Regions from separate parts of the Homo sapiens genome. Here region 2 is linked to region 1. The links are contacts of gene promoters, found by promoter capture Hi-C in human tissues and cell types (Jung and others, 2019). All regions are on one chromosome and are shown on one strand. The core of a region is centred on a gene start or on the middle of the fragment in contact, and the rest is flanking DNA. Distances in the headings are between cores, read along the strand shown.

Region 1 (3,625 bases), core at 1,062-3,561:
GTTGGGGAAGCCAGGCCGGCCAGGGCCTTATTGGCAGAGGAGACGCCTGAGAAATGACCAAAAGGCAGAGACAGAAGACTTCAGCCGCTGCTCCCGAAGCCACTAAGGGCAGGGAGGCCAAAGTGTGGGCGGCTCTGCTCAGACCATTCGCGCTTTAGGCCCACCGCTCTGCGCTCTTGGTAAGGCGGAGGAGGCAGCTTCTTGTCTCCTCTCCAGGTCACCGGGAGGGAGGAGAAAGAGGAGAGAAAGGAAGAAGATTCTCTAGGACTAGGTCCGGAGCCGGTCGAAGAAGGCAGCTCTGCGGGAGGCTGCCGGTGGCTGGGGTGAGGAGGCAGTGGGGGCGCTTCCACCTTCTAGTCTTCAGCCCGCATTTTCACCCTCGGAGCCCCCATCTCCAGCCCAGGCAGGGAGACGGCTCCCCTAACTGACCGGAAAGGGGGTCTCCTCCTGTCCTCCGGAGCTCGCTCGCCTTTCCTGCTCAGTGGGGAAGTCTAGAGCCCATGGCACAGGGCCAGGGAAGGATGGGGTGGACGACAGGGCCCTCCGACCAAGCTTCTGGGAGGGGGCGTGACAGGCAGGAGGAGGTGGTGGAGGGAGAGGCAGTGTGTGCAAGCGGGAAGCCAGCCCCGCTGAAGGAGCAGGAGCACAGCGGTGCTTGGCTCCCCGGCGAGCGCAGGAAGCCTCGGGTGCAGCCCGCACCGGGCAGTGGCGCCTCCCGCCCGCCGCCTCCTCCAGCTCCGCGCGCTGCCGTCGCCCGCCCATGCTTCGACTCCGGAGGCCGCCCCCAGCCCGGAGCTCCAGGCTTCCCGACGCCGGCACCGCGGAGGGCGCCCCTCTACCCCCAGCACCGAGGGAGGAGAGCGGGACGCAGGGTCATTCCTTACGAAAAGCTCTAAACCGCGGCTTTCTTCATCGGCCACGAAGCTCCAAATCGCACCCGCAGCCCGGTGGGAGGCTCAACTCGCCCAGGAAAGTTTCCGCCCGCCCGAAGCGTGTGCCCAGCGCGTCCCCCAGCGCCCCGCGGCCTCGGAGCGGGCCTCCCGCCGCTGGCACTTGTTTATTTCCGAGGTTACAACAGCGCTGCCCGGGAGAAGGCAGCGAGGCCGATCGGCCACGAGAGGGGGTTCCTGCAACTCCCGCCGCCCCTCCGCCTCCGCCCAGGGGCGCCCCCGGAGCCGCCGCGCTCTCTGCCCCCGCGGGCCGCGCACCTCGCCAGGCGCAGAGCAAAGCTGGCAATCCGGCCCGCGGGGCTCTGCAGAGGCAGCGGGAGACCCGCTCGCCCTCCCGGGGCGCCCTCCCGCGCCGCGCCCGCCCGGCGTCCGGCTTCCCGGCCCAAGCCCGGCCCAGCTCCCAGCCCCCGGGGCCCCGCCGGACACGCAGGCTCCAGCCCCGCCGAGGGCTCGGGGGTGAGAGTGCCCCGCAGTCCTACCCCGCCGCCCACCCGCAGCGCGGGTCCTGCCGGCACCCACAGAACTGAGCGGCGCCGCTAGACGGACCCCCAGGCCTTGGGCAGGAGAGGTCGGGCAGGCGCCCCGCACTCGCGGATCCCTGGCCCGCAGCCGCCGGGCGCCCCACGCCTTCAGCCACGGCCGGGGCTGGGCTCGGCAACTCCCGCGGCGCGCGGCTCCCGGGCGATGGAGGGCGCGCCGGCTCCGCCAGTGGAAGCCTGCCCCATGCAGGCAAGCCGAGCTCCGGGTAGCGGCTACGGGCTTTGGGCGTTCGAGGGAGGCTCGGCGGGTCCGGTGCAGGCGGAGCTCCCCGGGTCCTCCACCGAGCCCCACTCCCACCCTGCTCCGCCGCTCCCCGCTGCCCAGGCGGCTTCCCGCTCCTGCCGACCGCAGGCAGCTTCGCCGAGCGCGGGCGCCGGGCTGGATGCAGCGGGGAGCGCGGCGGGGGAGCCCGGGAGAGCCCCGCCGGGTGTGTGAGCGCCCCGCGGGATCCGGGGACGACCTCCCGCTGCCCGGGGCTTCCGAACGGCGGGGGCGGGAGGCGGCAACTTACCCGGAGCGCGCCGGAGAGCGAGAGCAGCAGAAGGAGCACGCCGGCGCCCGCGGTCATCTTCCCCGCCGCCCGCCCGGTGCCCGGCACCGGGAGCCCGCTCCCTGCCGCCGCCGCCGCCGCCGCCGCCGAGACCACCGCCGCCGCTCCGATCGCCGCCGCCGCCGCCGCTCCCCCGCGCCTGCCCGGAGCCTCCAGCCCCGCTGCGCCCGCCGCGCTCGCCGCCCCGGCTCCGGGAGCCAGGCCAAGTCCGGCCGGCGGCGCGTTCCCTCGGGCCGGTGCGTCCGCCGGCCTCGCAGCCGCCCGCGCCTCTGTTCCGCGCGCTCGGAGCTGCAGGTGAAGCCGCGGCCGCCCCGCCGAGGCCCCGCCCCGCCGCCCGGCCCCTGCGCTCGCTCTGCCGACGCGGGCCTTAAAGGCGCAGAGCCCGCGCCCGCGCCCCCCGCGCCGCACCAGCCCAGCCTCTGCCCTCCTGGACGTCTGGAGCCGCCCGGTTGCGGCCGAAGAGGCCAAGGACGCTCGTTTTCCAGGGGAAAAAGGCGCGGGTGTGGAGACTGAAGACAGCGCTGGGGTTTCCGCCCCCACACCCGGGGCACCCTTTCTGGATGGGGCGGTCCCGCCGCGGTCTTAGTCCGACTTCCCGCCCGGGCCCGCGGTGGGAGTGTGCACTTCCATTCTGTCCTTTTATTTTTCAGGTGTCTCCTTGCTAACTCCCCTGACCCGGGCTTGAACCCAGGTCGGGCAGCTCAGGGGTGAGAGTTTCCACCTGGAGCAGATGAGCAGAGGGCCACGCTGAGATTTCAGCCTGTGGGGCTTTGCAGACCCTCCCGCTCCTAGGAAAACTCAAAGCCCTGGCCTGGGCTAGGGATGTACCCTAGGATTGGGGACGGTAGTAATTCCTGTGTGTGCATCAAAACACCCTGTTAGGCCTCAGAAGCCAAGAAAGAAATTAGAAGCTCCAAGAAAGAAAGAAGTGCCCAGACAGGAGCTGTCAGGAGTGTCTGCGCCGACAGGCTGGGCCAGCTCCAGCTCCCTTTGCCCTGCATGGGTGATGGCTGAACTGGGGGGCACTTCTTTAAGGGTTATCAGGTAAAATATATGTACAGGTCGGACAGTGAGTAAATGTTTCTGCACTTTTCCTTTTGGCTTGGAGATTTAAAGAAACGCGGTTTTGTTTGTTCAGATACATCGAATTTTCTTTGTCTGGGGTTTCAGGGACTCTGTGTCCAGAATACATTAGTTCTGGTTTAAGAAATAGGTTGCAAAGGAGAGGGTGGAAGATTGAGTGACACTGTTGAGCTCCAAGATCAGAGTCCACTTGGGCAAGCCAGTAGAGAAAGCTACAGAGCAGCCGCTTCCCTCTCTCCCTCCCAGAACCCCCACCCTTGGGGGCAGGGTGGTCTCCCGGTTAGAGCTCTGCCTTACGCTTAAGGAAACCAGATTTTAGATAACCCCAGAGGACCAGAGTAAGCACTACATCCGAGAGCACAAGGCGAGATTCGGTTTTGCAACTTAACTATGGAACTAGTCAGGAGACACAAAATCTGCCCCAGCCTGGACTCCTATCAGTTATGGCCTTGTCCCACTCCCCACCTAGCCGAAGAAGGAGAGGTTACCAGTTGACATGGCT
Region 2 (3,579 bases), core at 701-3,200, 180 kb after region 1:
TCGCCTCCGGTTGCTACAGTGATGATTATGTTATCAGAGGATTACCGTTTTCTGTGAAGAATGGGTAGAAAGACCAAACCAGCCTCCAAGAAACCAAAGGCCTCGTTCATAAACAATCACTCTGAAAAATTAAAACAAAGCATAGGCAGGAACACATTAGCTGACAAATGTGTGACACTGTGGATTCTTTTATTCCAAATAAAATGCTTTTCAGGTTTTTAAGTTCAAAGCTTGTTTTAGGGCAGAAAATAAGCCATCATAACAAAAGGACAAAAAGGGGAAATTTAATGAGAAATATGACAGAAGACAAGGAGAGCAGAGAAAACACAAAAGTTGAAATGTAGCAGATAACAGAACAGAAGGATATTAAATGACTTTTAATGAAAGGATCACCCTGAAAAAATACAACTCGTAGAGCAAAGTATTTTAATTATTTTATTACAGGAAGAAAGCAAATTAGCTGTCACCCATAAATAAACACAATCCCCATATTAGAGTGAATTTTGAGAAGAAAGTTTTCAATTGAGACTGACTGAATAGAAGGCCCATGTTTGTACATGTATTTACATGTAAGTTGAACATTCTTCATTGACAGACCAGGTTGTCAATTGATGTTTCAATCTAGCATCAGTTTAGTGTTAGGTATAAACAAAAGCCTTTAAAAAGTGAGAAGTACGTTTTTGGAGATCTTGATGCTTCCATTCAAAACATCTCCAATGAAAAACGCCTGTCCCATCTCAAATTCCAATTTCCTTTTAAATTGTAAAGAGCTAGCTTGAATACTGGTTTCAGTTAGCATGGGGCCATCTATTTTGGATTTTATGTTGTACATTCTTTCTGAATCAGAGAATAATCTGTTATTCTAAAGATATATTCCATATTTGTTAACCATCCAAGTTTAGACCCATCTGTATCAGTTAGCAGTGCTGTAATAATGCTGAGTAACAAATCTTTCCATAACCCAGAGGCTGAAAACAACAGACATTTCTCACTTATGAGCCAGTAAGAGAGTTGCATGGCACCACGGCTGGGCTAGGTTGGGCTCTGGACTCCCAGCTCCTGGCTCTAGGTTCCAGGCTCCAGGTTGTGAATTGGGTTGAGTTCTGCTCCTTGAGCCTCCCATCATCCTTGAATTAGTGGCTACCCAGGGCATGGTTTTTTGTGGTAACAGTAGGAACACAACAGGCCATGAGGAAGCACCAGATGCCACCTAGGCTTGGCTCAGGATTGGCATGTTGTCTATGCTTATGTTCCATTGGCCTGAACAAGCTACTTATCCAAGCCCTACTTCAGTGAGATGAGGCAAGACTTCAGTGGGATGAGGGAAGTGGCCCGGGGAAGAAGGGAGGGAAGATTTTCTGTATTGTAACCCAGCACATGGTGCCATCTGACCAGAGGCTGCTCCATCCACTTTGGACCCTGAGGAGGAGGCATCTTACAGCAGCAAGAGCCTGGAATGGGAAGCAGTGGAATTTCAACTCTGTTCATCACTTCTCAGCCACGGGACATTGGGCAAGCCTCTGAGCCCCAGCACCTTCATCTGCAAGGCAGTTGCTGTGGGGTATGTGGGAGCACAGCCTTGGAAGCCTGGAAGACACGCATCTGAGTTCTGGTATTTGCCACCTGCTGGTTGTACATTCCTCGATGTTCAGTTTCCTTATCGTGAAATGGGGATAAGGCCACCTCTCTTCCTTGTTGGAAGTCCAGTGCAACTCCCTGTTGGGAGCGGGGGGAGATATGGCATAGGGACTATCAGATCAAATAAGCAAACAAAAGTGAAGTATGTAACACCTTGACTGGCATGCCATCAGTGTTTATACAATGTCCACAATTTTATTATTTATAAGTATATGGTGATCCCCAGAAAGATATGTGTGCTAATACCAAGAACTTGTAAATGTGACCTTATTTGGAAAAAGAGGTTTTGCAGAGGTGATTAAGTTAAGGATCTTGATATGAGATCATCCTGTATCCTCCAGGTGGACCCTAAATCCAATGACAAGTATCCTTAAATAGACAGGGCACGGTGGCTCACACCTTTAATCCCAGCATGTTGGAAGGCTAAGGCAGGAAGATTTCTTAAGCCCCAGAGCTTGAGGTTAGCTGGGGCAATATAGCGAGACCCCATCTTTAAAAGAAAAAAAATTAGCTGGGCATGGTGGCATGCGTCTGTAGTCCCAGCTGCTTGGGAGGCTGAGGTAGGAGGATCACCTGAGCCTGGGAGTTTGAGGCTGCAGTAAGCCATGACTGCATCTGGGAGTTTGAGGCTGCAATGAGCTGGACTGCACTCCAGCCTGGGTGACAGAGCAGAACTGTGTCTCAAAAAAATAAAAAAATAAAAGTAGACACACAGAGCAGAGACAGGGAAAGAAGAGGAAAAAACCATGTGAAGTGGAGGCAGAGATTGGAGTGATGTGTCCAAGCCAAGGAACACCAAGAGCCATCGGTGGTAGAAGAGGCCAGGAAGGGTCCTCCTGCAGAGCCTCTGTGGGGAGGATGGCCCTGCTGATACCTTGATTTCAGACTTCTAGCCTCCAGAATGCGGAGGGAATATACCTCCCCATTGTGGTCATTTGTTACGGAAGCTCCATGAGACTTCTACACACGGGTTGCTGTGCAGGGCATAGCCTCATGTGTGTGGCTGAATGTCCTGGTTGTGACTCCAGTTTGTACCTGGGGTTCGAGTTAGGCCCCTCAATCACAGCAGTTACAGAGTAGAGGAGGGTCTTATACCTTGAACCAGACTGCTCCGGCCACCCAGGAGAGCAGCCAGTCTATACAAGGAGCCAGAGCAGGCAGAGCTCGCTATGGGTGAGGAAGGCTGGATGGGGCTAGGCAGGGGGGCTGGGGAAAGGGCTCAATGGGGAGGTGATGAGTGAGCAGAGAACTGAATGAGGTGACAGGAATGTCGGGGTCAGAAAGCACTCCAGATATGGCAGGTGCTGGGCCCTGGGCAGACGTGTGAAAGAACCAGCAAAGAAGCTGTGGGCACAAAGCTTTGAACCTAGCAAATAAGAGAAACATCATGCACACCAGACACTGTGATGAGCAGGCTCAGCTTGAGTCAGGGAGAGTCACCTCCTGCACGATGTCCTGGAACCCACTCACGGAGCCAGAGGATGAGGGGGTCTGCTTTCCCGGGTGCCAGCCATCCTCCACGAGTTCTCCTTCTCCTCCCCTTCTCCTTCTTCCCCCTTCACCATGTGCGGTGTGACTTTTCAGATAAATGAAACAAAATTGCCCCTTTTAAAGATCTACTAAGAGCCTCCATCTCCTGGCTCTCTCAGCTTTTTTTCTTGCTACTTGAAAAAAGAAGGGGCCAGGTTGAGAGGAGCTGTGCAAATGAATATGAAGCCCACTTCCTTCCAGCTGTGGCTGAGAGATGGCTCTTCTCCCCCTCTCATTATTGAAGGCCGAATGGAGGCTCTTGGAGGCCTGTACCTTTCAGAGCTCATAAGCCTAGCAGCTGTGTGGAGAGGGAGCCAGGCCTTTCCAGGGTTGTGTCCTGTCCAGTCTGGGCAGTGTGAGGAGTGGTCCAAAGGATGCCTGGCCAGGGTCGCTGGGCCCTGATGGTAAGTC

Evidence for each region. Contacts are between HindIII fragments. The study calls those that stand out against the background at their distance.
Region 2: a contact is called between a fragment that was not itself captured here and the fragment with the promoter of CDH4 in region 1, in 2 of the 25 tissues and cell types used here (H1 embryonic stem cells and liver).

What each region holds. Positions count from the first base shown.
Region 1 is chr20:61,250,947-61,254,571 of GRCh38, reverse strand. CDH4 (cadherin 4) reads right to left here and starts at 2,311. Exons shown (of 16, transcript NM_001794.5): 1 at 2,002-2,311. The coding sequence starts at 2,058. RefSeq lists an enhancer at 1-207. The HindIII fragment of the contact is 10,940 bases long and covers 1-3,625 here.
Region 2 is chr20:61,075,433-61,079,011 of GRCh38, reverse strand. No RefSeq gene overlaps it. Among named protein-coding and RNA genes, the nearest start is that of LINC01718, 1.8 kb to the left of the region's middle. The HindIII fragment of the contact is 4,888 bases long and covers 1-3,579 here.